Regions from separate parts of the Homo sapiens genome. Here all the other regions are linked to region 4. Evidence: promoter capture Hi-C in 16 types of primary human blood cells and fetal thymus (Javierre and others, 2016). All regions are on one chromosome and are shown on one strand. The core of a region is centred on a gene start or on the middle of the fragment in contact, and the rest is flanking DNA. Distances in the headings are between cores, read along the strand shown.

Region 1 (5,441 bases), core at 1,660-4,159, 98 kb after region 4:
CTTACTGCAACCTCTGCCTCCTGGGTTCAAGCGATTCTCCTGCCTCAGCCTCCCGAGAAGCTGGGATTATAGGTGCCCGCCATGCCTGGCTAATTTTTTTGTACTTTTAGTAGAGACGGGGGTTTCACCATGTTGGTCAGGCTGGTCTCGAACTCCTGACCTCAAGTGATCTGCCCACCTCGGCCTCCCAAAGTGTTGGGATTACAGGTGTGAGCCACCTCACCCAGGCTATAATTTTATCATCTGTATATACATCCCTAAACACTATGGTTCCATGTTTCCTGTTTCTATCTTTATGTGCATGCAGTCATACTATTGTGGGTTTTCTTGTGTGTGTCTTGCTTCTTTCAACAGTACTGTTTTTAATACCCATCTGTGCTGTTGTACCTAGTTGTAGTTTGTTCATTTTCATTGCTGTGTGTTATTCTGTTGCTTGACGACGTGATAATTTATCCGTCGTTTGTTATTGGAAATTTGGGTTATTTGTAATTCTTGCCTGTTATGAGCGATGCTTTCGTTGACATTCTAATGCATGTCTTATACACAGGTTGGGGAAAGACCAATATTTACTCAGCTTTTATGGGAAACAAAATACCTAGTTCTACAAGAAAATAGTGAAGAATTCTTCTCTTCACAGGCCTGCTTCCTTAATGCCTTGTGGAAGAAGAAAATTCTTTCAAGTGAATTCTCCTGTTAGTCTTAACATAGGTTCCAGTTGTCCTCAAGTTAGCAATAAAAATCAAAGGATGCACTCGTTGAACCTAAGTGATTCCAGGGCTCCACCCCAGACTCCTGGGGTCAGAGTCTGCTAGATGGGGCTTGGGAGTCTGCAGATTTAACAAGCACCCAGGTGATTCTTGTGACTGGGAGACATCGCGTTCACCCTGATTGAATTTATAAGGCTGGGCTCCTTAGTTGGGAAGAGATTTGAAGAAAGTATTTGCATGATTAAAATCTTGGAAAATTGGCCTTTTAAAAAAGTTAAGGGAGTTGGATTTATTTAGCCTATAAAAAAACCTGAAACACGATTTAATAGTTGTTTGCAAAAGAATGAAACTTTTGTAAATGAAAAAACAAATATTTGCTAAGTCGAGAGTGATTTAGGCCAATCAACCTCCTGCTAAAATCAGCAGCAAATACTGAGCACCATGGGGGTAAGAAATGAAGACTGTTCTCAGGGCCTTCAGGGAGCTAAACACAGGAGAAAAACCGTAAGCTCTCGAACAAAAACCAGGATGCGATATTTCATCAAGTCTAGACTGTGGGCTTCGGTTGAGATGAGCGAGTGGATGGCCCCCAGGGACGCAATGGAGTAGAGAAACAGAGAGAGGCCACCAGGAAAGGGTGGAGAGGGCCCGCGGGGCTTGAGCTAGGCTTTCGAAATACGCCTTTGCTTAGGCAGATGGGGTGACAGAGCATTCTGAAGCAGTGGCTGCCAGTGTTTTTTCTTGTGATCCTCCAGTAAGAAATATCTATATTTCTTACATATATGTGTGTGTGTGTGTGTGTGTGTGTGTGTGTGTGTGTGTGTGTGTGTATATATATATATATATGTATCTTTTCTTTTTTTTTGAGACAAGGTCTTGGGTTGTCGCCCAGGTTGGAGTGCGGTGGTGCAATCTCGGTTCACTGCAACCTCCACCTCCCGGGTTCAAACGATTCTCCTGCCTCAGAATCCCAAGTAGCTGGGATCACAGGCACGAGCCACCGTGCCCAGTCCAGAAATGTATTTTATATCAGTCAGGATACACATACATGTAATAAATAAAAGCTTCATAAGACATTTAACTTTATTAAAGGTGGTACATCTGATGTTTTCTATTTTATTTTTTTAACATGTGAGGTTAACCGATAAACTATACAGCTTTCATAGAGTTGAAAACTATAAGAGGACCAGAAGCCCAGGGTGGAGGCAGAATCAGTCCTGTCCTATGGAGGGCATGCTAGTTAGAGGAGAGGATTTTCATGGAAAGTGGTGAGAGGTAATTTTGTTAGTTTGATGGTGGTCTCCAAAAGCCTTCTTTGATTCTAGAGTATGAATGAATTACTTTGGGATGTTATGATAAAATTTCAAACTTTACCTATTTATTTGACCAGCTCTACTTTTGGACAGTAGATTGACCAAAGTGACTTTTTGAGATTTTTTTTGATGCTTGGGGGTGGGGGTAGGGGAGAGGATTTGCTTCTGGATTCCAAAGAATGACTCAAAGTGCTTATTGAACATCTGTTTTGTCTCATGTTGTGATTGGCTATGGGAATTTTGGTATAGAAAATGGCACTGGAGCCAGGCACGGTGGCTCACACGCCTGTAATCCCAGCACTTTGGGAGGCCAAGGTGGGAGGATCACTTGAGGTCAGGAGTTCAAGACCAGCCTGGCCAATGTGGTGAAACCCCATCTCTACTGAAAATACAAAAATTGGGCCAGGTATTGTGAGTCACACCTATAATCCCAGCACTTTGGGAGGCCACGGTGGGCAGATCACGAGGTCAAGCGCTCAAGACCATCCTGGCTAACATGGTGAAACCCCACCTCTACTAAAAATACAAAAATTAGCTGGGCGTGGTGGCATGTGCCTGTAGTCCCAGCTACTCGGGAGGCTGAGGCAGGAAAATCGCTTGAACCCAGGAAGCGGAGGTTGCAGTGAGCTGAGATTGCACCACTGCACTCCAGCCTGGTGACAGAGCGAGACTCTATCTCAAAAAAAAAAAAAAAAAAATTAGCCAGGCATGGTGGCAGATGCCTGTAATCCCAGCTACCCAGGAGGCTGGGGCAGGAGAGTCGCTTGAACCCAGGAGGCAGAGGTTGCAGTGAGCCAAGATCGTGCCACTGCACTCCAGGCTGGGCAACAAGGTGAGACTCCATCTCAAAAGAAAGAAAAAAAAAAGAGTATGGCACTGGATAGAATAGTTTTATAGGAGAGGATGAGAGGATGTAGGAAATATCTCCGTGGGCAAGTTTAGGAAGGAAAACTGATGGCCTCTTTATCACTGTGCTTCTGGAAGGAGCATGATATGGCCAGTTGTGCATATCAGAGCTAATTGCAAGTATGATTAGTGGCCTGGCCCAGGACTAGACAACTCTGCTATTTGATCAGAATCCAGATTCCTGGATCAGACGTCTAATTGGGACCCTACTTGGCCTCTAGTTTTAGCATGCTTGTGAGAATTTTAAGAGCAAAACTCTTCTTAAAATTTTTTATTTTTAGAGATGGCGTCTCACTGTGTTGCCCAGAGTGGTCTCGAACTCAAGCAATCCTTCTGCTTTGGCCTCCCCAGTAGCTGGGATTACAGTTATGAGCTACCACGCCCAGGCTCTTACCTTCCCTCCTCTTTTCCCAACCTAGCTCTGCTTACTGTGAACCCCATCTGCAGCACTTCTTGAATGGTGTTGTGGATTATTTATTGAAGATTTGCTTGTGTAGCCATGTTCTCTTCATCTGCTCCAAGAGAAAAGTAAATTCTGGCCTGCACTGAAAAGAGGCTCTAGATAGAAGAGAGGCATTTCAGACCACTAGGAATGTTGCATTGACCTTGTCTTCCAAAGAGCAGGATAGGGAAGATCTCTCCTGCCATGTCTTATAGAAACTGAACTCCCTTAAAGATCCATGTGGAACGAATTTTAGGGAACCCCTGCAATCAGATTTTTCTCTACCTAAGAGTAGAGTGCCTTAGCAACGTTGAAAAGGAAAATCCTTTCATGCGGCCGTTCCTTTGCTTGAATACTTTCAGTCCTGTCCTCTGAGATTTGATCATATCCTTTTGATCTTCCCAGTCCAGTTTTAATTTGTTCAGTTTAGGTTAGAAAAGGATTTGGAAAAACAATACTTTTCTCTTTTAGGATTCTATAGGTAGGGATCATTGGTCCTAAATGTTCTTCCCTTTTTTCTTTGCTTGTAAAGTGCACTCTGGGGGAATAAGCTGCACTGTGTTTCTTGGGGCTTGATCATTTGCTGTAGTTGTTTGTACAGTTGTTAAGTTACGCTTTCTATTCTACTAACAAATGATGGTGTGAGGAACGCCATATTTCTTATGTTTCCCTTCAACAGGAAGCTTGATTGGTAACTAAAGACAAAAATCTCATTTCTTTGTGAGTAAATTGCTGTAGTAGGAGCGTGGCTGATGTTGGTCCAGACACATTCTTACTTTGTTAAACCTATGAGGAGAGTCATCAAGGAGAGCTGCACTGGTCTACATGGTGGCCTCTGGCTAACGTCACGTGAAGTCTCGAGGTTAAAAATTCACTTCTTCAGTAGCACTAGCCACATTTCCAGTGCTCAGTAGCCACAAGTGGCTCATGCAGTATTGACATTTTGGGCCAGATTATTCTTGGTGGGGGTAGGAGGACTGTCTCATGCATTTGTGCATTGTAGGACTTTCAGCAGCACACCTGGTCTCTACCTACTCAATGCCAGTAGCACTCTATAGACATAACAACCAAAATGTTTCCAGAGATTGCCAAATGACCCCACAGGGGCAAAACAAATCCTGGTTAAGAATCACTGGCTTTGTGGCTATAGTATTTGAAAGCCCAGATAAAGAACATTTCCATGACGGCAGACAGTCCTGTTCTAGAGTAATCCCTAGCAGAGTTTGGGGAATTTTATATAATAAGAATTTTGAGCTTTGGTGGAATCACAGTGGACATCCAGTCCAAAGCCTGGGGAAACTGAGGCACAGAAAGATTATGGGTGACTTCAGGTCACACAACATGTAAGTGTCAGTCTGGAGTTCTGGACTTCAAGTTCACGCAGCCCAGAGAACAAGCTGCTGATTTTTGTTCAAACCTGCTTCATTCCTACTGTGCACCTGCACTCAGTGTTGGTGGGGGAGGACAGAGTCCTAAAAACTGGGAATGGTTCAGTCCTGAGACGTTCAGAGATGCAAATTCTGAACACATCTCTTTTATCCCTCCCTGGCTTAAGGCCCTACATATGGGCTAGGGTTGGGAGGGTGACTGAGACATCTGATGGACAAAGACTTGTTGGGTTTCCTCATTTCCATCAGTACAGAGATTGGGAACATACTCCCGGGGCCGTGGAAGACTGTCATCCTGTAAAATTTCTTCTTTTTAGTTTTTAAATCTACAATATCTCCTCTGTCTGCTTCCTTTTAAGGGTCGATCGTAAAGCTGTTAATACGAAATACCTGGAGGTTCATCCCTTCAGAGGCTGCAAGGAAGCAGAGTCTATAGAAAGCTTTGGGAAGGGAAAAGGAGTCTCTCCCAGGGTGTGGTGTCCACAGCCGAAGGGGCCAGAAAGTGGGCTTAGCTCAGGGGCCGGGCGCAGGAGACGACTGGAAGGCAGCCCGGGCTTGCAAAGTGCCCAGAGCCTCTGATATGCTCAACATCTTTCCTTCCTCCCCTCTTTCCCTCATTAATCCCACGTGCTTCAACACCTCCCAATGACTCTTCAGTCACTGGTTCTATAATTCTCTCCCTCCT
Region 2 (5,811 bases), core at 2,336-4,835, 100 kb before region 4:
AGCTCTGAGCATCCACATCTTCATCAGCCGAAAGGGACTTGACCCGTCGGCTGGCTCCCAGGAGCAGCATCAGTGGCAGCAACTCAAACACGAAAACACTGGTTAAGAGGGTGGTTCATGTTATACCTCAAAAGTGTCTGGGTTTGCAGACAGCAAGCAACCAATTACTTGAAAAAATCTGGGAGGAGGCAGATCAGTTAGTATCTGCATAGTGAGGGAAAAGCACACTGCAAGAAAACGTCAAATCCATATGGGATTGGAGACGCATCACCATTAGGCAAGCTGGTCTCAATGTAAAACAGTTTTGCTGGATGAGATTTAGTGGGTGTACTGGTGAGCCAAAGAAGGCTTGTGTTTTTCACTTCCCTGCTTTTTTTACTCCAACTTCTGTTGTTAGTTAGCATACGGTGTCTCAGATGTCTGAATGAAGTGTAAATTGCATTTGTGATATCTACAGCTAGAAATGATCTATTTAGGAAGGAGGGAAAAAAAACTGACACAAAATAGGATAGAGACCTGGTGCCTTTAAAAGGAATTGCCTTCAAGGTCCTGCAAAACAAGCTCTGACATTCAGGTGCCTTGCCAACCATGATCCCAAGCTGCTGTTCCACTTCCACACTTGGCAAAAGCCAGAATGAACAAAGGCAGCAACCCAACTGTCTTCATTCTTCAGTGGTTCCAACAGATGACATCATCTGTGACTGCGTTCCCCTTTTCTAATTATGGAAATCAGACTTAGGAAATCAAAATCAGTCAGAATTGGCTACTTATCCAAACTCCTCTCTCCTATCTATAAACGTACACAACCAGCTCTCTTAAAAATTATTTTATTTTTAAAGAGTGTGCAGTGCTGGAGTGGTGTAAGAGAGCAAAACAATAAAATATCCAGAAACAAAAATCCAGAATGGCATATGCTTTCCTGTGTGACCCTTTTGGGCCTGAATAGTGGCTCTTGTAAAAAGCTTCAAGTTTCCACCAGGTGTCCTGAATTTTCAGTCTCATTGGATTTTTTTCTTAATGTGGAAATTATTGTTTTTCATCTTACAAGAGAATACACTTAAAAACCAGTCCTCAGTACCCTTTTTGGAGATTGAGAAAACAGAGCCAGTGTGGCTTAAACAATTCCCTTCTCCCCAAAATGGAGGCCGGTGAAGACCATGTGACAGTGGGTGTCTTCAGCCTGACACGTGATATCCTACTCCCAGTGACAGCATCCATGAAACAGAATGGCATGGAGAGCATCAGCACCCTGCATAAAGGACAGCATCCCTCTTCATCAGCAGTGTCTAACCATTCATTCACCCAGGAAAAACTTACTGCACACCTACCTTCTCCTCAGAACTAGAAAACGATGATGAATCAGACCTGGTTCCTCCACTGTAGTGAACAGAAAGGCCCATCTGTCTCCCGCCTCCTAGAATAGACACTAGGCTTCCAGCGGCTTGACTGTCATTGTTACTGTCTATGGTAAGCATTTGTCATTCATTTTTGGCAGCTCAGCATCTGAGCCATTCTTCAATATTATGGGCAGCCCCTTTTGATGTCTTGGTGGGAAGCATGAGCCACTTCCAGTGACAGACTCTTGCTTTTTTAGCCTCCTTTGCAACTTGAATTAAGACACCTACAAGATGCCTAACCAGAGCATCTGTACTGGAGAGTGACTCAGGAGCTTCAGGGTCCACTGGCATCTACCCTACTGCAATGGAGGCAGAGGTGATGGTGACCTCCAGAGACAGTCACAGCAAGGTGGTGCAAGCAGCGGAGTCTTCTTAGGAATGGTTCTGCTGTGATATGGGAGGTTTATCCTGGCCACATGGGCTCCAGTCCTAGCTCTCTGGAGCTCCTGGAAATTTAGTTAATGACCTAATATTTTAATACACTTCTTACTGCTTAAATTGGCCAGGCTTGGTTTCAGCGGCTTGTGCTAAGATCTCTGACAAATACATCCCCTCAGACCCAAGTCTACAGCAGATATCTCTCAGCACCTAAGTATAAGAGATAGTAATGTGGTAGTGTGGGCGGCAGAGAGATTTGGGCAGAACGATGCAGAAAGCAAACCTTTATCTTTCTGCAAAATGTGTCAGAAGCTGACTCTACAAAATGGAAAGCTCTATTTGGCCTCAGACTTTCCATGTGACAATGCAGACATATGGCATTGGCCATAATACAAACATAGCATCCTTCAAGTTGCATATATTTAAATTAATCAAACTGCATTTTGTAATTCCTGTTGGTCCAGTAATCCTATTTCTAGGAACCTATTCCAAATAAATGAGCTATTGTTTCATTTCAAGAATATTTGTATTAGTCAAGGTTCTCCAGAGAAACAAAACTAATAGGATATAAACAGATATGTAGAAAGAGATTTATTGTGAGGAATTGCCTCATTCAATGATGGAGGCTTATAAATTCCATGATCTACCATCTGCAAGCTGGAGGCTTGGGAAAGCTGGTGGGATGGTGCCTCATGCCTGTAATCTTAGCACTTTGGGAGGCCGAGGCAGGTGGATTGCTTGAGCCCAGGAGTTCAAGACCAGCCTGGGCAACATGGCGAAACCCTATCTCTACTAAAAATACAAAAACTGAGATGGGAGGACCACCTGAGCCTGGAAAGGTTGAGGCTGTAATGAGTCGTGATAGTGCCACTGCACTCCAGCCTGGATGACAGAGTGAGCCTCCCGTCTCAAAAACAAACAAACAAACAAAATAGAAAATATAAAAAATACATTTTGGTTTCAAAATATGAATTTTGGGGAACAGAAACACCCAAACCATGGCAACATCGAAGCTTCATTAGTAATTCTTAAAGATTAGTGGCAATGTGAAGCCTGAAACCACATCAATGAACATTTATCCTCTGTTATAATAAAACCCATTGGTCTACATGGACTTTGAGTGGCTCTTTTACCTGCATAATTTTGTAACACAATGCACTGGTCATTTGGAAAATTTTGATCTTCAAAATGTTGGCACATTTTATTAATCAATATTTTAAAAATCACGTTTGTTAATATTATCATGGAGTTCATCCAAAAAAGGCTTTAATTATTTGTAAGCTGTCAAGCTCACAGTAGTGGATACAAGTTTCCCAAAATTCTTGTTTTTGCTGGAAAGCCCCAATTTTATTTTTGGCAACAAATACCGTCAGCTGGTTTTCCTGAAGTAATGGACACGGTTCATTTCTGAAAAAAAAATATTAGCCGAATATGCAAGTCTGAATAACCATTGTTTGTCCATCAGTTGTTCTTTCAGATAAAAATGCCGTTCTATGAAAAAAGGAGCAGTTCAGCTCACAGTTCAATGGCACAAATGCTGTTCCTCTAGACAACCAGTGAATATCAGTATGCAACCAAAGTGCTTGATGCGTGTCTCCCATTCCATCACGCAAAATATTTTAAAATGTGCATACTTTAAGGTCAAGGTTTAATACAGTTACTGATTTTTTATTTCATTAACAACACTCTTATGTGACACTGGCTTTGTTTTTTCTATGAGTGAGTGGTGGTGGCTGTTTGACTATTACCCACTATTGCATTTGCACCATCAGTGCAAATGTTAACACAGTGAAAAAGGCAGACAGCATCTTAGTATTATTATGAAAATAATTCTGACATCAGGATATCGTGAAAGAATCTTGGGGTCCCCCAGGGGTCAATAGACCTACTTTGAGAACCACTGCTCCAAACCTTGAAACCTTAAAGGAAGGGGAAGACTTTGACAGGCATCAAGAAATGAATGCCTGTGTCACAGTGGCCAGTTAGTGGAGGGGGCAGGACAAAGGCTAGGAAGGCAAGTAGATGCTAAATCATAGACAGCCTTTCGTACCAGGGAACAGAGCTTGGATGTTATCCTTGCAGAGTTTTTTTGTTTTTGTTTTTGTTTTTTTTGAGATGGAGACTCGCTGTGTTGCCCAGGCTGGAGTGCAGTGGCATGACCTCAGCTCACTGCAACCTCCGCCTGCCAGGTTCAAGAGATTCTCCTGCCTCAGCCTCCCAGGTAGCTGGGACTACAGGCACACACCACCAAACCCGGCTAGTTTTTGTATTGTTTGTAGAGACAGAGTTTCACCACGTCGGCCAGGCTAGTCTCAAGTAATCTGCCTGACCTCAAGTAATCCACCCGCCAAGGTGCTGAGATTACACGCATGAGCTATCACACCTGGCCTATCCTTGGAGATTTTAATAGCCATAGTTATCATTTGTTTATCACCAACTACGTGCCTGGCATTTTGCACACAGTAATTTGCACTTCACATTAATCCTGTGAGGCAAGTATTATCACTTCTATTTGGTGGAAGAGGAAGCTGAGAGTCAGAGCAGTTAAGTAACTTGCCCTAACTTGCAAAGCTAGCGACAGTAGAGAAGCCCAGGTAGATGTGGCTGCAAAGCTTGGATGACTTCCTTCATTCCCAACTTCCTCCCAAGCCATGTTTTTTAACCCTACTGAGTAGGATCCTGGAACATGTATGGTCCTAAAACATTTAGTCTGACATCAAACACTATGACTGTAAATTTTGTGTATTTATTCTGGGTTCCCTAAGGGCAAGGGTCAGGTCTATTTATATGCCCAGCATGCTGTGATCACTTAATAAATCTTTAACCACAAAGGTAGTGATTTTTATGGAGCCCAACTCCTCCTAGATTCCTTTCAGCTTTCTGTGAGTTTAAAATGTACACACCTGAGTGAGAAGATTTTTTTTTCCCCAGGAGGGGCACGGACACCCATATTTTCTAAACGGTGACTGTGTTCCTCAGTGACCACACAGCTGCTTCGCCACAATCATTCCTGCATAATTGTAAGGTAAGCAAATCTTGTCTTCTTCACCTTTTCACTTCCCCCTTCTTGAAGGAATGAATCTTACTCTGGAAGGAGATTGGACTTTGGAACAGGCTGACCTGAATTCAGATCCCAGCTCCACCACTGACAAACTGTGTAACCACTGGCAATGAATACAACCTCTCTCAGCCTCCGGTTCCCTATCAAAAACACCGTGGTAATACTGTTATCTTCAGAAAGTTGTTGAGAAGATTAAATAAAATTGTGTTAATAAACCAAAGCTCCTGGTGCCTTTTCTTTCCTCCACAATTCTCTCCCATCACTCAAACTATTTTTCAATCCAGCATTATCTATCTATGCTCATACCATGAGTTAGCATGCTCACCTTGCTATTACTTTAGAAATTATCCAATAAGCTAATAAAAATAACAAATGCAAAGCCTTGTTGATAAAGCCTGCGTTTCACCTCAGTGGGAACTCTAAAATGTGTTCCTCGATGCAAAAGGTTTTAATGGGTTCCCTGGTCAAATAATTCTGAGAAACACTGCAAACTAAATCTTCCTTTATGGATGGGCCAGGTTAGCCTGCTAATGACTCTGGGAAGTCCCAGAGAAAAGAAAACCTGTTTAACTTCATAGAACAGCTAAAAAAAATGTATGTGCACTGTTGAAGACTCTTTCCTGGTACAGTGGTCCCCTCTAACCGACGGTTTCCCTTTCAGTCACTGGCAGTCAACCCCCATGGAAAAATAAGTAAGCACAGTACAATAAGACATTTAGAGAAAGAGAGACTGCATTCACATATTATTATAATTGTTCTATTTCATTATGATTTTATTAATCTCTTACTGTGCCTAGTTTATAAATTAAACTTTATCGTAGGTATGTACATATAAGAACAGCATAATATACATAGGGTTCGGTACTATCTGCGGTTTCAGGGATTCACTGGGGGTCTTGGAATGTATCCGTTGCAGATAAGCAGGGACTACCATAATCATCCCCCCACCCTCACGAAAAGTTTCCCCTTAACACC
Region 3 (5,927 bases), core at 12-2,511, 65 kb after region 4:
CTCACAAAGTGTTAAACCAAAAAGAAGTTTCGCAGAAAAAGAATGGACACATAATTTTAAAAATGTATATGTATCATATAGTTTGATTATGTGTAAACCAAAAATTTAAGGGAGGATGATGGGTTGTTTATCATTTATATGGAGTCAAGTTAGTCTATAAAATGTTCAATCGCTTCCAGACTCTGAAAGTCATTCTATGACCCTGTCTCAGATTTTTTTTTTTTTTTTTTTTTTTTTTTGAGATGGAGTCTCGCTCTGTCGCCCAGGCTGGAGTGCAGTGGCGCAATCTCGGCTCACTGGAAGCTCCACCTCCCGGGTTCATGCCATTCTCCTGCCTCAGCCTCCCGAGTAGCTGGGACTATAGGCGCCCGCCACCACGCCCAGCTAATTTTTTGTATTTTTAGTAGAGATGGGGTTTCACCGTGTTAGCCAGGGTGGTCTCGATCTCCTGACTTTGTGATCTGCCCACCTCGGCCTCCCAAAGTGCTGGGATTACAGGCGTGAGCCACCGCGCCCGGCAGATTTTTTTTTCTACTTGACTAATAAAAGTAATAGCGCTTTCATGAGGTCTCACTGGGCTGTTTGGAGTATGTGAGGGATAACAGAGGTGAAAAGTTTTTGGAAATCTGCATGTGCTATTCACATGTAAAGTTCTGGCTTTTATTTTTTACTTTTTTTACTTATTAGAGCTAGTTCTCACTATGTTGCCCAGGCTGGCCACAAACTCCTGGGCTCAAGTAATCCTCCGCGCTCAGCCTCCGGAGTAGCTGGAATTACAGGAGTGCACTGTAATTTTTGTTGTTGTTGCTATTATTAGTCAGAGGTGGGACTCCATGACAGCCCACAGAGAGGGGAGGAACAAAGACCTGCCTTCCCACATGGGTTCTCTTCCCCTATTTCTTATATTTCCCCTTCTTCCTTCTCCTCTCTTAAGTCTCTTTCTTCCCATTGCCTTTTTTTCCTTCCCTGTCTTCTGTAAGGTCTTCGGCCTCCCGTTGTTGTCCATAGATATTGCTTCTGGTATCTGGACTCTGAATGCCTTGTGATCAAAACTATGTTGTTTATATAGATATGTGTGTGTATGTATGTAGATGTAGATGTGTATATATATATATATATATATATATATATATATAGATGTGTATGTATGTATATTGTATACATACATATAAAATATGTACATATATTTATGTACATAAATATGTAGATATGTAAAATATGTACATATGTTAAAAATAATACAAGGATCTCACATCATGCCTAGTCCAGAGCTCAAGAGGGATGTAGCAACTAAATGTATTATGACCATCTAGATTGCAGGGAAAATCATTAGCCAGGCTCAAAAAAGTAAACCTCTGCTGCTTTCTAGATTGAGCAATACACAAGATATTGTTCATGTGGCAAATCAATGCCAGCAATTCCGTGTCTGCCTTTATGGCTTGGACTTAGGGCTTTTATTTTAAATGATTTCTTATTTTCTCTGCCAACTGGTCTCTAAATATAAGTTCGTGTTTTTCTTGAACGGACACTTTTTTTTTTGAGGTGGAGCCTTGCCCTGTCACCCAGGCTGGAATGCAGTGATGGAATCTATGCTCACTGCAGCCTCTGCTTCCTGGGTTCAAGCGGTTCTCCTGACTCAGCCTCCCAAGTAGCTGGGCTTACAGGTGCGTGCCACCACGCCCAGCTGTTTTGTAGTTTTAGTAGAGCCAGGGTTTCACCATGTTGGCCAGGCTGGTCTTGAACTCCTGACCTCAGGTAATCCACCCACCTCGGCCTCCCAGAGTGCTGGGATTATTACAGGCGTGAGCCACTGTGCCTGGCCTTGGCTGGACACTTTTAACTGCTCTAGAAGAGAGCTGTTCTTTTGGTGTCTCGCCCTGAAAGTGAGTTTTATGTATGCCATGTAGTCTATATGTAGATCTTTTCAGATAGACCCTTTGTTATGAGCTGAGTTGTGGCCCCGCCCACCCCCAAAGTGATATGTTGAAATCCAAACCCCCAGTTCCTCAGACTGTCACTGTATTTGGACATAAAGTTAACATGAGGCCTTTAGGGTGGGCCCTAATCTAGTATGACTAGTATCCTTATACAAGGAGAAAATTTGGACTCATGAAGAGACACACACAAGGGATGTACATGCACAGAGAAAAGTCCATGTGGTGACACAGTGAGCAGCTGTCTGCAAGCCAAGGCAAGAGGTCCCAGGAGACATCAGCCTGCTGGGTGACACTTTGATCTTGGATTTCCAGCCTCCAGTCTGTGGGATTTTGTAATGGCAGCTCTAGAAGACTAACATCCCCTCCGGTTTTAGTGAAAATTTGTAAAGCATTGTTGTGTGATGTGGTGACAAGCAGAGAAATACAAACTTAATCTCTGCCAGGCGTGATGGCTCATGCCTGTAATCCCAGCACTTTGGGAGGCTGAGGCGGGCAGATCATTGGAGGTCAGGAGTTCGGTACCAGCCTGGCCAGCATGGTGAAACCCCGTCTCTACTAAAAATTCAAAAATTAGCTGGGTGTGGTGTTGTGCTCTTGTAATTCCAGCTACTTGGGGGGCTGAGGCAGGAGAATCACTTGAACCAGGGAGGTGGAGGTTGCAGTGAGCCAAGATTGCGCCACTTTGGGAATCCCAGCACTTTGGGAGGCTGAGGTGGGCAGATCACTGGAGGTCAGGAATTTGAGACCAGCCTGACCAACATGGTGAAACCCCGTTTCTACTAAAAATACAAAAATGTATAAATAAATTAAAAAAAATACAAAAATTAGCCAGGCATGGTGGTATGCACTTATAATTGCAGCTACTCAGGAGGCTGAGGCAGGAGAATCGCTTGAAACTGGGAGGCAGAGGTTGCAGTGAGCCAAGATTGCACCACTGCACTCCAGCCTGGGCGACAGAGTGAGACCCTGTCTCAAAAAAAAAAAAAAAAAAACCCACTTCATCTTATTTTATGGATCCACTGTGGAGTGATGGTGAGGGTATATATTAGAGTTCTCCAGAGAAACACAACCAATAGGATGTTTATCTATATACCTATATATAGATGTGTATATAGGATGTTTATTTATCTATAGAGAGAAAAAAAAAGGAGATTGATTGATTCTAAGGAATTGGCTCATGTGATTGTGGGCTGGCAGAATCGGAATCTGTAGGGCAGCCTGACAGGCTGGAGACTTCAAAGAAGAGTTGGTATTTCAAGTCAAAATGCAGTTTGGAGACAGAATACCTTTTTTGTGTGAGATCTAAGTCTTTTGGTCTTCAACTATTCGGATGAAGCCCACGTACATTATGGAAGGTGCTCCTCTTTACTCAAAGTTTACCGATTTAAGTGTTAATCATATCTAAAAAGTACATTCACAGCAATATCTAGACTGGTGTTTGACCAAATAACTGCACCGTAGTTTAGCCACCTTGACACATAACATTAACCGTCGCATAGTGGAGATGAGGAAGTGGTAGTCTGGGCCTACGTTATATAAGAATAGTGAAATTTCACCTGATTTAAGGAAAGCTAAATGTTAAATGTTAACAATGTGTTTTTACATGTATAACATCACTTAATTATTTGAATCAACCTTTTGTTTTAATACATGAGTGAGTTGACCATATATTTAGTTTTAATATACTCATCACCCATAAATTTCTGTTGATGATATAAGCATTACGTGTGATATAGGCTGTGGACTGGTATTTACATATGCTTCAAAATTTCAATACTCATGCTAGGAAATTGCTTGGTCTATGCTTTTTTGCCTTGGTGTGACTTTTTGCCTTAAGTATTATTATTATCTTTATTATGGCATAAAGCAGTATTTTATACACTAACTCCTTTTATTTATTTATTTTTGAGACGGAGTTTTCACTCTGTTGCCCAGGCTGGAGTGCGGTGGCGCAATCTCGGCTCACTGCAAACTCTGCCTCCTGGATTCAAGAGATTCTCCTGCCTCAGCCTCCTGAGTAGCTGGGATTACAGGCATGCACTACCACATCCAGCTAATTTTTGTATTTTAGTAGAGTCGGGCTTTCACCATGTTGGCCAAGCTGGTCTTGAACTCCTGACCTCAAGTGATCCACCTGCCTCAGCCTCCCAAAGTGCTGGGATTACAGGTGTGAGCCACCACACCCGGCCTAGTTGTTCCTTTCTAGAGGACAGATCCATATCCTTTAAATCTGCTTGATAAGATACCCATTTCTATCCAGATAATGAAATGTTTTGGTTATTAAAGTATGCCCGGTATTTGGGCAAAACTAGAATCTAATAAATTGTAACCCACAAATCATATGTGGGCTATCAGTGAACACTTTCCCCTAACTCCCCATGGCGTGACAGGAAGCCATGGAGAATAAGAGTAAAGTGATAAAACTGGCAAGTGGACCGAGAAATCCAAGCCATGAGAATTCTGAGAACAGAGAGCAAGAAACAGCTCTCTGTCAGCATTCAAGGACAGAACTGAAGTTCAAATAGGAAAAAAGGATGCTGCTTCAAGGATCAGGAGTTGATTCTCAGAGACTCTGATGCATTGCCTTGGTGTCTTAACCTGTAGCTTAGTTTTCCTTGGGACTTTGCACCACAATCCTACTCAGCTACCGTGGGAATTCTTGCTTGAAAGTAAATCTAGGACTATAGTTGTGGTAATATTTGAGCTTTACTTTTCTTCTGTTACTCTTGTCCATTTGATTGAGGCTAAGAAAACTGGCCCTCTGTTAAATTGAAGTTGCTTTTCTAAGGCAATAGGCTCTGGGAGAATGGAGAGGTGGGGTCTCCTAGGTTACCAAGCTTGTGCACTCCCATGAAAAAGCCTGGGTCTCTGTAAAATATGTTGGTAACAGTTAAAGCAGAAGCCATTGGAGAGAGAGAGAGGGAAAAAAAAAACCAACTTCATTATGATTTAAATTAATCTCTACTTTTTATTCTTAGATAGAACTAATTAAAGTTCTAATTATTTTGAGTGCTTTAAAACTAGGTGACAGGGTTTCCCTTTCTCTAAAAGGGATTGGAATTTTTCTTTAGGAACAAAATTGATGGGTAGTCTGCAAAAGGATTCAAATTGTTTAGAAATATATGACCATTATGAAGCATTATTTTCTGTCAGTGTCTATGATTTAGGGGTCGTAGAAGACCTGAATGTAATTAGTGATGTGGTGACTTTGTGAAGCTAGAAAAAAAAGAATTGAATTTTCATTCTATCTTTGAAGGAAGAAAGACATTGTGAGCTTAGAAGCAATAGAAGAAGTCACAAAGTACACTTAAATTAGAAAGCTTAAGTTTATTGTGTAGTGGATAGTCAAGAGGGAAGACTCTCCCACCCCCTTCCCTCTTGGTAGGCAAATACCAGACAGAAAATATTTGTAGCCAAAATGGCTACCAGTCTTTATTGTAAGCGCATCAACTCAAAGATAAAACAAGCAGAGGACATCAGAAGACAACTCACAGCTACTAACTGAACATGAAGAATACGTCACCGATAACCAAGTGCTGCAATTAAAATAAGATGCTGGCCAGGCATGGTGGCTCATGCCTGTAATCCCAGCACTTTGGGAGGCTGAGGTGGGTGGATCACTTGAGGTCAGGAGTTTGAGACCAGCCTGACCAACATGGTGAAACCCTGTTTCTACTAAATACAAAATTTAGCCAGCAGTGGTGGCGTATGCGTGTAATCAGCTACTTGGGAGGCTGAGGCAGGAGAATCGCTTGAATCTGGAAGGCAGAGGCTGCAGTGAGCTGAGATTGTGCCATTGCACTCTAGCCTGGGCAACAGGAGCGAAACTGCTTCTCAAAAAAAAAAAAAAAAGCCACAAATACATTACAATTTTAAAATGTGAATACTTTTGTTATTTGATAATATTAAGGAATTATTCTTAAAATATTTAGACGTTATACTAGTATTTTGTAAAAGATTTCAGAGAGGCCAGACACGGTGGCTCATGCG
Region 4 (5,352 bases), core at 2,224-4,723:
TGAAAAGGAATGCCAAGGTTATTTTATTAATTTTCCCATGTTACAGTTTTCTTCTATTTGGAAACATCCCCAGGAAAATACAAAAAGTGTTTTTTCTATGAATATTTGGACTTTTTCTGGTAGATTATCTCCCTCCAACCTTCTGATTGTGTTATTGCATTTTTATTCTATTCTCTGGACTGGGTCCAATATCTCCACATTCCTCTAAATCATGCTGCCTCTAACTAGACCCAGAAGTACAGTCAGCTCCTGACCAAACACCAAATAAAGTGGAGAATGACTTTTTGGCTGTGGTGTGATATCTATCTCTCCTTCCTCCTGCAGGGGCAGTTTCTTGTTATCCCAACAAGTCTTAGCTTTGGTTCCTCAGACTTGGGCAATCAAGATACTCATAATCTAAGAAGAACCAGTATTGATGAAGGATGAGCAAGGAAAAAGGGATGATATCATTTAATCTCAAGAATAAAAATTGAGCCCACTCAATCAATGAATTTCATTTGTGATGTCCTGGATGGCAACACTCTTTGGAGTTTACAATTGTATTGCTTTGACAAGACTGACCTGCTAGTGTGATCAGAAAACAATGTTTCGTCATGAAATGACAGGGCAGTTTTGCTTATGAAGGGTCTACAAACTAAGAGAATAGGTTTAGGATGTCAGAACTGAAAAAGATCGGGTATGGTGGCACATGCCTGTAATCCCAGCACTTTGGGAGGCCGAGGCAGGCAGATCGCTTGAGCCCAGGAGTTCGAGACCAGTCTGGGCAACATGGCGTAACCCTGTCTCTACCAAAAGTACAAAAAAAAAAAAAAAAAAAAAATTACCGGGTGTGGTGGCCCACACCTGTAGTCCCAGCTAGTGAGGTGGGACCTGGGGGCTGAGGTGGGAGGAAAGCTTCAGCTTGGAGGTTGAGGCTGCAGTGAGCCATGATTGTGCCACTGCACTCCTGCCTGGGCACCAAAGTGAGACAAAGATAGAAAGAAGACAGAGAGAGAGAGAGAAAGGAAGGAAGGAAGGAAGGAAGGAAAAAAAGGAAAAGAAGGAAAGAGAGAAAAAAGAAAACAAAAGAAAAGAAAGATCTTGGAGGTCATGTACTTTGATGTTCCCTTCTACTAATGAGGAAAGGGGGAACAGGGGAAGTTAAAACCCTTGGTGAAGGTCAAATGGCAAGTAAGCAAAAGAAATGGGTCAGGAAACCCAGTCTCCTTGCTCTTGGTGCTCATGGCACTACATATTACACTGCTGTTACCTTGATATTTGGATAAAGGAATGCAACATACTGCTCCTCCCAAAAGGTTTTACTACTTTACACAGGTTAGCTGGTCATTTTATTTTTGCTTCTTTAACTCAACCCCTTTCACCTGGGCCTAGTTCTCATCAAAGGGTGGTATTCAATGTATCCAATGAACCCAATTAGCATTTCTAAAACGCCTGGGCAACACAACCAATAAGAAGATGCTATTGAACCTCTTACTTCCCCACTAATCCCCCTGCAGTTGGCAGAACTTAGCTGCCATGCTCAGTCTACAGACTACAAAGTTGCTTTGAGTTTCAAAAGTGGGGATCTGGAAAAGGATCTTGGCACAGCCCAAAAAAATAAGAATACTTTCACAACGATCCCTCATCCAGAGTTAGACTTGCTGACTTTAGAGGGTGGGAGTGTAAACTAAGGAGAATCATATACAAACCACCTATGGGAATCTAAGAGGTGATAGGCTGGTAGGCTCTTTGGAGGTGGCTGGGACAGAGAAAAAAGAAGAGGGACAGGACCTCTGTGAATCAAAGTCAGATGTGCCTGCCTTAGACAATCATTGTTTAATGTTGTCTAATATTTTAACTCCTTCAAAATGTCAACTGTTCCTACAGAATACACACATGTCAAATTTCCAAGACAGCATCATCTACCTGTACCATGCTCCAAATCCCATCCTCCCAGCTGCCCCTACTTGAACCAGACTGACCTGCAAAAATAGAGCAGAAAACTCACAGGCAGTAATGTTCCCCTTAAATACCCTACAATATGTCATTAACAAGAATCACGATGAAACACTATTGTAGAAATTGCCAGCATTAAACCAAAAGAATGTTGGTCAGTTCATGTTTCTTTTACAGTGTGACTTTGTTTGAGAGGGATAAAGGACAGGAAGAGGAGTGTACATCTTGCTTTAGCTGTTCCTCACTTGGCTAAGGAACTTTTGCTGTAGGAAGTGAAGACCCTGCACCTAGTTACAAGGCTTTTGATGCTTGTTTGTCAAGTTCAACTGTTAAAGGGGAGATAGGCTCTTCCCTAGTAGGGAGAGGGAGGAAGGAAAGGGGGATGGGGCGGGGGGAGGGAACAGGTAATATCTGCCATATAAATATTAGTATGTAGCTGACACGTTATAAACTGAGCTGTTAGGGTGAATTTCAATTTTGTTGGAATCGACCTTTTTTCCCTCTTAAGTTCAATTGACTTACAGTAGATCCCAGAAAGAACTCAATACGTTATTTATTCTAGAAAGCTTTCTTCCCTGAGCAAAGGAGGCAGAGCTAACGAGGAGAAGGGAGGAGCTTAGGTGAACAGAACTGAAGTCACAGCTGGTTAGCATGACTAGAATGCATGGAAAAGCCAGCCCAAATTAGATGAGTGGGTAGATAGAGAGCTTTGAAATCCTTGGAATTAATGGTGGAGTCCATCGTAATTGAAAGGTCGGGCCTTAGTGGGCTGGGATAGGGAGAGAAGCTGTCGGGGACCTGGGGCAGTGAGCCTGTACCCCGTGGCTTCTCACACACTATTTTGAAGGCGTTCCCATGCGCAATCTCGCCTGTCAGTTCAGGCTGTAGGTTTCTCCTTTCTAACTCCTGAGCAGAACAACACTGAACGGTGGTAGTCTTGCCTTGCCACCCAATGAGTGCTAGAAAACAGTCACTTCAACCAATTGGTTCAGTCCGGAGAACGTGAGCACATTCTACTTTACTTTCTGTTCAATGATTTTGGAAAACAACCTTTTAGATTCTGGTCAGAAGGGGCTTGGATCCGTGACTTTGAAACACTCGCCACTACCACAAACGACTTTGGAAGTTAATCAGAAATAAACAGTATCTGGGATCTCATCCGTCCTAAACCCAGGGGTCAGAGCGTGGGGGGCTTCCACTAACTTCAGGTTAAGAGGATGAAACAGATCCGCGGAGAAGGGTCCCACGATCCCTGGAGACTAAAAGCAAGCCACGAACAGCCGGGACGCGCGGGCCGGGGAGATGCGCCGGGGGCTGGAGGGCGGAGAGCACCCCCCGCAGGTCCCGGCCAGAGCCCGGGGCCGGGTCACCTGACTCGCGGAATTTGGGGCCGCGAGGGGTGGAATGGGAGGGGAATGGTTAGCGCCTCCCTTCCCGCTCCCACTGGATCCAGGTCGGCGGGGGCCGGCGCCCGGCGGCCACGTGGTGGTGCTGCCGCTGCCCCCGCCCCGCCGGCCTAGCCCGGGAGCTCGGCGCCCACTGACCCCCGCAGCGGGGGAGGAGGAGGGACTGCGGCGCAGGAAGCCGAGCAGGAAGCGAGCCCGGCGGCCGCGTTTTCCTGGGGAAGCGGCGGGCGGGGTGGAGCAGCCAGCTGGGTCCGGGGAGCGCCGCCGCCGCCTCGATGGGGTGAGTGCGCGGCACGGAGTTGGGAGGCTCCCGGCGCGGGGTCCCGGGCTCGTGTCCCCGCCTTTGTGTCTGGAGCTCGGGCGCGGGAGGCGCTGGGGACGGCGCCCGGGCGGAGCGGCTGAGCGGGCTGCAGCCGGGGTCCCGCCACCTCTCCCTGGTCCACCGCCGGCAGCCCACTGTCTGCGGAGAGCAGATCTGGGGACAAGAGGAAGGAGAGGAAGGTGGAGATGAGGGTAGAGCGGGAAGACCCGGCCAAGTTAGGAGAAGGGTTCTTCCCGGGTCCTCCGCGACTCGCAGGCCGGCTGGGGCGGGGCGCGGGGCAGGGGCCGCGGCGGAGGGAGCGCGGGTGGGAATGAATGAGCAGACCCGGAGATGCACCCTGGAGTCTGCGCCGGGTCCCACCTGTTTCGCCCCGCGCGGCGCCTCGCTGCCCCCGCGTCGGTGCTGCTGAGCCCAATCCGCCTCCCGGCTGAACTTGGAGGAGGTGGGGAGGGAGGTGCGAGCGGGAGACTCCGGGTGGCTCCCAGGACGCGGGGTCCGCTATTGTTCCTCCTCTGACTCCAGGGAGCCCCTCGGCCGGCCCAAGGGCGGGGGCGAGACCCCTCTGGGCCTGCCCCTGCCCCCTACCTTGTTTTCCCCGCCGCAGCTCGGGGAGAACGGATGCTGGAGTTGGGGCAGACTCGGGGCCGCCGGGACTTCGGGAGTAAGGAGGACGTGGAGCCACCAGAAAGGCGCCCGCCATCTCCCGCGACCCCTGCCTGGTGGGGGGTGGGGGGTGGGGTGTCGTCCTCAACCACCTTCGCTGCCTTCTTGGGCAGGTTGGTGTCGGTTTAGTTTCTGCGGTTTGCAGGGTTGACATCCTAACTCCTTTGAGTTTCGCATCCCCCTTTTGTGGAGGGGGCTCAGAGCCTGGAGAAGCAACAGACGGGGAATTAAGGCAGATGCAGCCCAGCACAGCGTGGAGGGGTCCGAAGTGGCCTCACGGGGGCCTGAGCATGGCTGTCTTTCCAGGCTCCTCTTTATTTGCCAGGAGCCCAGCTAAGCCCAACTTTACTCCCAGAAATGTTGAGGGGAATCTGCGGACTCGAGGCCCCTCGCCTCGGGACCAGCGGCTTCTCTTCGCCGCAGCTCACGCATGATCGGGGTGGGATTCCGTCTTCCTTCCGGGAGAGGAGAATGCCCAGCTGCCTGGGATGGGGAAACGTTGCCGGATCTCTGGGGAATGTGGTCTCAAGGCTGCAGGGGCCTGGCAGAGAGGAACTGTCCATCACTAGGACATAGCCGAAGCTCGCCTTAGCGAAGAGAGTCTCACCTCCTCGGGCTTTGCACAGAGTTGGAGAAGAGGTCGGGAATCACAGGGAGGCTGGATTTTGGCTGCTCTGTCCCCAGCCTGCAGGTCCCTGTTCGCCCTGTGGCTCGGAATTTTATTACTGATGTATATAATCTGATAATCTTTTCTTAATGATGCCTAACAAGTGTGATTTTTTTCCCCCTTGGGTTTGTAAGACAGTTGATTTTATGTGAGGAGATTGATCCAGTTCTTATATTTTAGCCAGTGCTTGTCTAACAGAGATTGGGAGAGCTATCCCGTGCTGGGCTGTTGCACAGTTTTCATCTCCATTCACTGAGATGCTTCAGTAATGAATTTATTGTTTTATGGCTTTTTGGAGATGGTGGTGGTGGTGGTGTGATTATAACCCTGCTGGAAAATCTTATTACTGTTATCTGAAT

What was found. Contacts are between HindIII fragments. The CHiCAGO score rates a contact against its expected background, and 5 or more counts as called.
Region 1: a contact is called between a fragment that was not itself captured here and the fragment with the promoter of RAI14 in region 4, in 2 of 17 cell types (endothelial precursors and naive B cells). The highest score is 7.4, in endothelial precursors.
Region 2: a fragment that was not itself captured here is called in contact with the fragment with the promoter of RAI14 in region 4 in 1 of 17 cell types (endothelial precursors); the score reaches 10.7 in endothelial precursors.
Region 3: a fragment that was not itself captured here is called in contact with the fragment with the promoter of RAI14 in region 4 in 1 of 17 cell types (endothelial precursors); the score reaches 5.0 in endothelial precursors.

The regions. Positions count from the first base shown.
Region 1 is chr5:34,751,214-34,756,654 of GRCh38, forward strand. All of the region lies in intron 2 of RAI14 (retinoic acid induced 14), which reads left to right. Among named protein-coding and RNA genes, the nearest start is that of TTC23L, 85 kb to the right of the region's middle. The HindIII fragment of the contact is 2,280 bases long and covers 1,770-4,049 here.
Region 2 is chr5:34,551,684-34,557,494 of GRCh38, forward strand. No RefSeq gene overlaps it. Among named protein-coding and RNA genes, the nearest start is that of RAI14-DT, 100 kb to the right of the region's middle. The HindIII fragment of the contact is 1,599 bases long and covers 2,787-4,385 here.
Region 3 is chr5:34,720,190-34,726,116 of GRCh38, forward strand. The region is part of intron 2 of RAI14 (retinoic acid induced 14); the gene reads left to right. LOC124900960 (a long non-coding RNA gene) reads left to right here. Exons shown (of 3, transcript XR_007058730.1): 3 at 1-1,117. Among named protein-coding and RNA genes, the nearest start is that of RAI14, 67 kb to the left of the region's middle. RefSeq lists enhancers at 1,206-1,706, 1,707-2,207. The HindIII fragment of the contact is 7,021 bases long and covers 1-4,772 here.
Region 4 is chr5:34,652,855-34,658,206 of GRCh38, forward strand. It overlaps RAI14 (retinoic acid induced 14), which reads left to right and starts at 3,474. Exons shown (of 18, transcript NM_015577.3): 1 at 3,474-3,621. It overlaps RAI14-DT (RAI14 divergent transcript), which reads right to left and starts at 3,319. Exons shown (of 3, transcript NR_183264.1): 1 at 3,139-3,319. RefSeq lists a silencer at 3,432-3,481. The HindIII fragment of the contact is 8,769 bases long and covers 2,500-5,352 here.